Linked DNA regions of Homo sapiens: all the other regions are linked to region 3. Evidence: promoter capture Hi-C in 16 types of primary human blood cells and fetal thymus (Javierre and others, 2016). All regions are on one chromosome and are shown on one strand. Each heading gives the region's core, a stretch centred on a gene start or on the middle of the fragment in contact. The rest is flanking DNA. Distances are from core to core; before and after follow the strand shown. Region 1 has its middle 22 kb from the start of LINC02458. Region 2 has its middle 47 kb from the start of LINC02458. Region 3 holds the start of LUM (lumican).

Region 1 (3,013 bases), core at 79-2,578, 2.1 Mb after region 3:
GGAGGGTGCTCTCTACATTAGCAGTGGTTCCAAGAAGAACCCAAAGGAGTAATGGTTGGTGTTAGAAAGAGGCCTTGTAAACATAGGAATGGGGCTACCCTAATAGAATGATCTTCTCCTTGTCTGATTATACTTTTAATGGTTAAACCCAGTAGATTAAGATAAAAACTGGAAATTGTCAGGAAGAACTTTTTTTTTTTTTTTTTTTTTTTGCTCCAGATACTTCATTTCCATCCACCCTCACTCGCTCCTCCCAATAAGGAGAGAATAACCTGACTATTGATTTGGGGTCTGGAACTGGGCAAGTGAATCTGGGAACTGACACTGCTCCCAGTTGCTCTCAAGATTATGGGCCACATTAATCTTAGTCATGAAAATCTTTTCCCCATGTGTGAAGCTTGTATCGGTCCAGTACTGACTGTGAGTAAGTCAGCCTAATTCCGGAGTTCAACATTATGAAACCCACTTCTCTGCCAGATGTAAGCTACATTTCCTGATACCAGCCTTGTAGGTTATAACAGTAATGTTTTTGTTCTTCATCTGTGAATTCTAGTTTCATTTGAGAGGGAAATATTCCATACTGCTGCTGTTGTCTTTTAAGTGGAACTATCTGCATTTGTATAACCTTCCTGACCTCTCTATATCCACTCACTTAGCACTTGGAGAGGTGAAGTGATTTACCATATGGGTGATTTTGCAAAAAGAAACCAGGCATGTCTTCATCTCTTCTACTTTGGAAGAGGTCTGACAATTACTCTTGACCATGTCATGAAGTTAGTGGTAAAGGCTTTCCCCTCTTATAGGAAAGGTCTGCCCTAACTTACACTATGTATTTTTTTTATTATTTTAGAATATTCAATTCTGTTGTAGAAGATAGGAAATACAAATGGGATTGATGAAACTCATTTAATATGTTTAATTATATATAAGTCAGTAACCTGTAAGATGACAGACATGGATAAAGTAATTAGAGCATATGAGTGCTAAACACAGATAAAAAGTAAAGAAGAATGAAGAGGATCTAAATATTTATAATTCATTAAATAGATATGAGGCACTGAAGCACCTAATACTGATGATATGCATGAAGCAGCAGTAAGTCTAAAATCGGTCATCCATTCTGGCCCTACAAGTTCTCTGCCCAGGAAAAGCAATTAAAAATTTATAGTTGCTTATCAGGTTAATTGCCCCTGGGTCTCTTCAACAGAGCAAGAATATATGTTGGCTCAGCCACCTTTTATCTGGAGACCCCCTTGCCTCAAAATTCAACTCTGGTCCTCACAACCCTATCATCAGGAGGGAAGACTGGTGCCACAGAGACACAGGATTCAGCTAGCGTGGTCCCTTTATCTTGCTTGCATCCTATCCTAACTGTATTAACTTATGCCATATCTTTCCCTTTTCTTCTTACTATGTTTTATATTAATTTAGTAAGCCATGTGATTTGAGCATCTTAACTTGACCAGTAAACCTCTCCATTCTATGACCTCTGGAATAGCTTGCCTCATGGTGTACTCGAAAGCCACCATTTTTAAATGCAATTTCCCACATGCTTAGACTGATTTTGTATTGGTTCAACACTACAAGAGAAGATGGGTTTACTAGAATTTTATATCTCATCCACCAGTAGATGAACAGATAATGTATGATTTATCCCTAGAATGAGTGCAATACAATTATTAAAGCGATTAAAATTTATTTAATGTAACAGGAACAAATGTAAAAAATGCAATATCAAATGTAAAAAACTTAATTACTGAAAGATACACACAATGCAGTCAATTTATATAAATGTTAAAAACCTACGAGTTACTAATTTTGGCTTAGAATCCAGTCTACCCTTCTCTCTTCCAACGAGAGAAGAGCCCATTGCCCAAGATTCAGCAATGTATATGGTTATACTGGCAGATATTATCCAGCCTCCCTTGAAGCTAGGTACAGCCATGAGTAAAATTCTGCCCCATATGGTGTGAATAGAATTATGTGTACAACTTCAATTTTATATCCATAAATGTGAAAGGGGGCTGCACATCCACCCTCCCTCTCTTTTCCCTTTCCAATGGCTAGAATGCAAGAATGCCAGCTTCAACTATGAAGACACCCGAGGTCATGATGCAGCAACAAGAGAGGGAATCTAGATCTTGGCTAATCTTGTGGGTAAAGACATCTGCCCTGAATTGCTAGCCTATCACTGGACTCTATGAGCCATGGAATTTTTGAACCATTATATTTTGGGGTTTCTTTTTTATAGAAGCTTAATATGCATCCTAATTAATATAACACAAAATGATACATTTATTTTCGATTCATATGCAATAAAGTAAAAATTTATGGGATGATGCACACCAGTTAGAGGATCATGGTTCACTCTGTGGAAGGAGAGAGTAAAAGGGATGGGGTAGTGCAAAGGTAGGTGATCTATAACTAGTAAGATGAATGCACAAAGTCATAAAAATCCAGACTCATTTTTTTTCCTTGCTCACTCACTCCATGTCACTTCCTTCCTCAAAGTCACAAGATGTTTGCTGGAATCCAGCCATCACATTCATATTCCAAGGAGAAAGCAATAAAATGGAGGAGAGAAAAAAAATTCATGCCAAATTAAGGTCACTTAAAGAGATTTTATGTAAATCCCACCCAAAAACATCTGCTTACATTTCTGTGTAGTCATGCCCTCTCTACTTTATGTTCCATGTTATAGTTAAAGCGACCCAGTGTTTTATGCATCAATAACTCCTCAAGCCTCAGAATTCAGTTCAGACCTTAAATTGGCAAATGAAGTCCCTCATGATCCAGCTATTATCCCTCCAGCTCCATCTTCTATACCTCCCTGCTTGCAGGCAATGCTCCAGACAGATCAAATGCTTTCAGTTCTTGAAAATTGCTACAATCTCTCTTGTTCCTTTGCCTTGGCAACTACATCTCCTTCTGTTTGGAACGTTCTTTCTTCACTTAACTAACTCCTTTTTTTCATTTAAGACAACCTGCCACATGCCTTTTGGACACTGAAAAG
Region 2 (3,014 bases), core at 119-2,618, 2.1 Mb after region 3:
GATATAGTAGGGATTTTGATGTGATTTATCTTAAAAATAATTCCTAGCTTAGTCTAATGAAAAGGCCTAGAAACCATGGTTAACCAAAGAGTAATAAGCCCTCTAACACTCGGATTTTTATTCTGAAATACTATTTCCCACTAAAGCAAACCACAATTCCTGGGACAGGAAATGTACAAGATGAGTTTGAAATATTTTACCAAGGAGGCTATTAAACACTATTAAGGTAGTGTTAAAAAGATTCAGGAATCAACCTAAAGAAGATCCACTGGCAAAAGAGAAAACAATTCCAATTATACAAGAAAAACCATATATTCTATAGTTGTTTGAGCAGTGTTTTATATATAAGACTACGTAAACTCTTAGTCATCATTTTTACAATTTCTTTTTATCTGCTGATTTTTGTCTGATTATTCTTTCAGTAACTGGACCTGTATCCATATATTACAATAAATGCAACTTCATAAAAAGATGAAGCAATCTGATTATCAATAAAGATGTAAGCTGCAATGACTTTAATACTAAATACATTTAAATCAATGGGTTCATAATAATACTTATCCAAAAAAAAAAAAGAAAGCTTACCATCAACAAAATGTACTAGCTTCAGAATGCGGAGAACCAATTTATTCTTTTTAAAATTTAGAAGTTGGGAGAAGGATTAAGCATTTACCCTATGTTTCCTATGTTGTACCATTAAGTAACCAAATGGAAAGCAAGGGAAAGTTTCTCATTATAGAAATATTTTAAGAAATAAGTGAAGAAATGATAGAATTGCAATATTTTTCTCATTCTTCCCCAGCCCCAGTGATCCCCATTAGGGCTCAAGACCATGGCATCAATTACAGCTTATAAAATAAAAGAGAGACAACGTGACTTCTGATGGAACAGTGCATCATCTCTAAGGTAGCCTTGCAAAAAAAATATCAAATCTGAATCGGATCATGCCTTAGATTTAACAGTTGACAGAAAAAATAGAGAACATGGGAATCTCCTAATGACACCACAGGGATGCAATTAGAAAAATCCTGACTGAGGGAAATTTTAAAGATCTCAAAAGATCTAATGATTCAGTCTTTCTGACAAATAGGTATCAAGAGAATAAAATGAAAATGCCTATAAATTAAGATAGATTTATGGAACTTATTAATCACATTCGATGTGCTAAACTGGTAAATAAAGGGAAAGAATCAACCATTTATCTTGTGTTTCCTATTCAAACTGGGATAATCAAAATAGAATTTCTTCTCCGAGTCCCTGAGAATGGGGCACGTATTTAACCAAATCACAAACTACGTTTATTAACCACGTAACTTATTCATCACACTTTGTTATTCTCTGGGATTTGTAGTTTCACAAACCAGCACCTGCCTTCTGATTCTCTTTTCCAGCCTGTATTTTGGACACTGAACCAATCGCATGGAGATTTATTTTTTAGCTGGTGAATCTTTCATTATGTAAATGTTAATGTATTATTAATGATAATAATAATGCTAATAATAATGTGACTAATTTCTTAAGTCTTCCTTATGTGCAAGGAACTGTGTATTGTGTCATTTACTTGCCCAGTGATAGTAATGTAGGCATTTTAGGATTCCCATCTTACAGATGAGGGAACCAAGGCTTTAAAAATTTAATAAATTGCTTGTGAGCCCACAGCCAATATCAAGCTAGAAACGTGCACCTGAGAACATGATTCCCTGTCCAGGGCTGTTACTTTCACCAAGTACTTAATTTGACATAAATGTAAAGGAAGAGATTGCCTTTTTGGTTAAATGTTCTCTGACACTAGAAATACAGTTAAAGGCTCTTAAAAGGCTCTATAGCTTCTAAGATGAATAACATGAATTGAAAATACAATGAAAAGTGTACCCCTTTTGTAGCTGGGGGATTCTTGCCTTTGCATCTAGACTGGAGTTCTGCTTTAAATGGGTTGCCATTTCAGGATTGCTTTAGGGATCAATGATAGTAAAGAGGAATGTTTTAGTCTAATAATATTAACCTGAATATATAAAATGTGCTATCTAGGGACAAAATGTACTTTTGCATTAGAGAATGAGAAAGGAAAAAAAATTAAAAACTGGAGCAGAGAGGTAGAAAGGTGAAGAGGAAAATAGGTTATGGAAATGAGGAGTCAGATTGGGAAATAAGCTTGATGAATAATTAGTGAGAGGGCAATGGGGTAGGTGTAAGGCTGGGCTCACTTTGCAACCTGCGTGCTGCGTGGAACCTGGAAAACCACTACATACTGTATAAAGTTTCCTTTTTTTGTCTTTAATGACAACAAGTCAAACACTACTAATGTCTCATAGAGGCCTGGGAGGCTACTGCACAGATCAGGTAATGACATTTATCTTACACCTACTCAGCATACAACTTCTGGGTTTTGGCATTCAGTTAAGATTCACTTGGAACCATATGGATGATACTGGCAATTATGTCACACTCTATTCAGGATGCAGTAGAATTTAGCAATGTTGTATCAAGATCCTATCATGGACTGTGACTTACTATTCTCACAAAATGAGAATGGTTTGGAACCTTTGACCTCCAAGAGCCATTCTTGAATCTATGATCCAGCTAGCTCCAGGAAGATGACTGGAAAATAGATTCTTAGGTTGTGTTTCAAAATACCAAAATGTACTTTGGGCATGATTTTTATTTTTCTTTTAATAAGATTAAATATTAAATATTATATTTAATGTATTAAATACATAATAATAATAAGCTAATGATGAAAGTATTTTGAGCATGAAAAGCACCATCTCAGGTAGACTGTAAGGTATGAATAAGAATGCCCAAGGGTAGGCTGGGATGATTGATTCAAGACTCAAACAATTTTAATTTAAATCCTCCTTGACACAGGTTCACATAAATCAATGTCCCTGGGTCCTAACACTCTGTCTTACATTCCAGTACTTTCTGATATCTTTAGCTATTTATCTGACTTTGCTTAAAAATTCACAGCACAGAGATCAGAGGGTTACATTTCTCTTACCTATGTATACTACTCC
Region 3 (3,013 bases), core at 485-2,984:
TTTAAAGGAAGAAATGTGAAAACTCTGAGTATAAATCATGGAATATATTAGATCCACTATAAATGTTAATTTCATTTCTTTCTATTGGACCCTGAAAATATGCTCTGAAACGCACAAAATTATTCAATTATTGGTTTCACAGAACTGATTTTATTAAAAAGTATATGTTGACAAGACTTTACAATGAGCTAAATCCAATATAATGCATTTGAGGTCTGTTATAAATACCACAACACATGTATTGCTTTATAAAGAAAAATCTTAAGGAATGGATAGGTGGAGTTTTTCTAACAAGAGCTCAGATTATAGAATTTGATACACTCAAAATTAATACATAGCATTGTTTTAAGAATCCTCTTATAACAAGATCACTTAATTATATTCGATTGATTTGTCTTTTTTTCTTAATTCCTTATAAATTTATTCAGTTACTTTGTTGAAACTGAGGCCTATCAATAATTTTCTTAAAATAATATTAGGAAAAATGTTATGTTTATGAATCATCTTACAATTCCATTAGTTACTTTCAAGAAGATTACTTTTTGTTTTTGAACACTGCTATTACAAAAATAAGCCATTTATTCTAATAGTCTTTTTTTCGGACAAATGCAGTATTAGTCATGGAGTTAATTTTCCACAAGTCTCACTGCTAAAATGTGATATAGTTATTTTTAAAGACAAAAATACAATGTGACAACTTATATTAAAATATATTGGTGTAAAAGTTCTTATAAACATGAGGAAATGAACATTTTAGAAAAAAATCTCATAAATATATCTGATAAAATCACAAAATGAAATAGACAAGGATTTAAGTACATCTCTCATTTGCTGAAACCATGCATCAGGAGCTGATAATGAAAGATATATCCAGCCAGGCCTTTGGGAGATTATAACTTTGAATAACTTTTAACTTTGAAAAAAAATTACTAGCATGCAATGAAAGATTCTTGCCTTGTGATACTTTTAGTATAAATTTATTTTTTTCTCTGTTCTTTTATGTTTTTTGGCATTAAGCTATAGAATGCTCTCCCCAAGTAAGGTTTTGGGTGAATTCCTAAACGAAATCCACAAAATAAAAAACAGGCAAGACTTTGCTGATTGGTTCCAGACCTGAATAACATAAAATGAGTCTCCTTAGCATTAGAAGTAAACTTGAAATGTTGATATTTATCATGTGTATCCAAGTGTATATGAAGCATATTTTATATTTTTAAAACTAATGTAAGCTACCCTCATGGCCAAAAAATTAAGTTAGTCCAAGTAAATCAATATTGATTTCAAAAGTGATAGGCAAAGGGATTCAATTCCTCTGAGTCTGTTCATTTGCGTTTTCCTGAAATTATTTGCCCTGCTTATGATTTCTGAGATCTTTAGATAAACATGATAGTTGGCTGAGCACATTGCACTTAATTGTTGCCACAGCCACAGATGTAAAGAGGCTTGTAAGAAAAATGTTCTCACAGTGAGCTTCCTTATTTGAAGCAGGACTCAATTCTTGGTTAAAAGCTATGGTATTTGAGCTAGTTAAACACATATCTCTCTCCCATTCCATAGGGAATGAGCTGGGCTGTCCTTTCTCCCCACGTTCACCTGCACTTCGTTAGAGAGCAGTGTTCACATGCCACACCACAAGATCCCCACAATGACATAACTCCATTCAGAGACTGGCGTGACTGGGCTGGGTCTCCCCACCCCCCTTCAGCTCTTGTATCACTCAGAATCTGGCAGCCAGTTCCGTCCTGACAGAGTTCACAGCATATATTGGTGGATTCTTGTCCATAGTGCATCTGCTTTAAGAATTAACGAAAGCAGTGTCAAGACAGTAAGGTAAGTGCTGTTTTAACTATTGCACTGGGGATGTTAACTGTTTGGGACAGCGTTTTTTGTAACAGGAACAGGAAAAATTCCAGAGCAATTTTGCCAATTGCTATTCAACAGCAAATCCACAGTTCTGAGCATTTAGTTTCACATTTTGTTAATATGTTTTCCATGATTTATAGATTTGAGATTTTATACAGTATATGCTGTATTGCTTGGCAAGAGAAGTTATAAAAAGTTTCAAGGTTAGAATGAGAAAATAGTTAAAGTAGACACAGTGAAAAAATATAGAAATTAATATGTTTGTTATGTATGCTAGTTAGTTATATATGTTAGTATTGGACCCTAATACTGGAGCAAAGAAAAGTCATTTTAATCAGCATTCAAAATATCTTTTAATAAGCATATTGTGACAATTTGTTATAATTTACAATAAACGTTCTATGTTATAAAACATGAGCTAAAAGATTTAGGAACTCTTATGGATTATTTATTTCTGTTTTGTTAATTTAAAAAATTTGTTTCTTGGATATATGCCTTAAGGAACGAGTTTTTTAAAAAGTTCTGGGAAATGATTTCGTTTTTGAAAACAGCATTTTCTCTATAGCCACAGGTATTTGAAAAAACTGAGGGTAGTACAGTGTGATTTTGCCTCATAGTGGAGTCATTATATGGTTGCAAACTCTCATTCAATTCAGCATCCTTGTTTTTACTTTGCCAAAAAATATGGAAGCATTTTTCATTACTATTTAATACTCACATTATAGTTGCCATATTTTGGTGTATAGTAAATTTAAAATAGCTTATTAATAAAGCAAGACAAATCTTTACAGTATTTACATTCTATAACTTAAAATAACTCTGGGAATATGTCATCACGTTCTTTTTAGTGCTATGCAATTATTATTATGGCCAAGTTCTGTCAGCAAAATTAAATGCCCCCATTAAAATCTTAGAGAGTAATTTACTGAGAATCTGGCTACATGTTACCTTATGTCAGCAATCAAAGTATTTCTAAAAGCTGTTTTATAACGTTCCATCTGATCTGAAATAAAGTGCCTTACAATTTCAAATTAAAACAAATAAAAGACGTTTTCAGTTTCTAACCCCAAAGATCCTGCTTATCCCAAACTACTTTGATCCAAAAGCTTGTAATCATACTTTCATAGAAAGATATAATATTCTCAGTTAT

What was found. The method cuts DNA at HindIII sites, captures the fragments that hold promoters and counts their contacts. A CHiCAGO score of 5 or more calls a contact.
Region 1: a contact is called between a fragment that was not itself captured here and the fragment with the promoter of LUM in region 3, in 1 of 17 cell types (neutrophils). The highest score is 5.1, in neutrophils.
Region 2: a fragment that was not itself captured here is called in contact with the fragment with the promoter of LUM in region 3 in 1 of 17 cell types (neutrophils); the score reaches 6.5 in neutrophils.

What each region holds. Positions count from the first base shown.
Region 1 is chr12:88,996,058-88,999,070 of GRCh38, reverse strand. No RefSeq gene overlaps it. Among named protein-coding and RNA genes, the nearest start is that of LINC02458, 22 kb to the left of the region's middle. The HindIII fragment of the contact is 1,857 bases long and covers 400-2,256 here.
Region 2 is chr12:88,971,559-88,974,572 of GRCh38, reverse strand. No RefSeq gene overlaps it. Among named protein-coding and RNA genes, the nearest start is that of LINC02458, 47 kb to the left of the region's middle. The HindIII fragment of the contact is 1,571 bases long and covers 583-2,153 here.
Region 3 is chr12:91,110,215-91,113,227 of GRCh38, reverse strand. It overlaps LUM (lumican), which reads left to right and starts at 1,734. Exons shown (of 3, transcript NM_002345.4): 1 at 1,734-1,830. The HindIII fragment of the contact is 5,015 bases long and covers 1-2,971 here.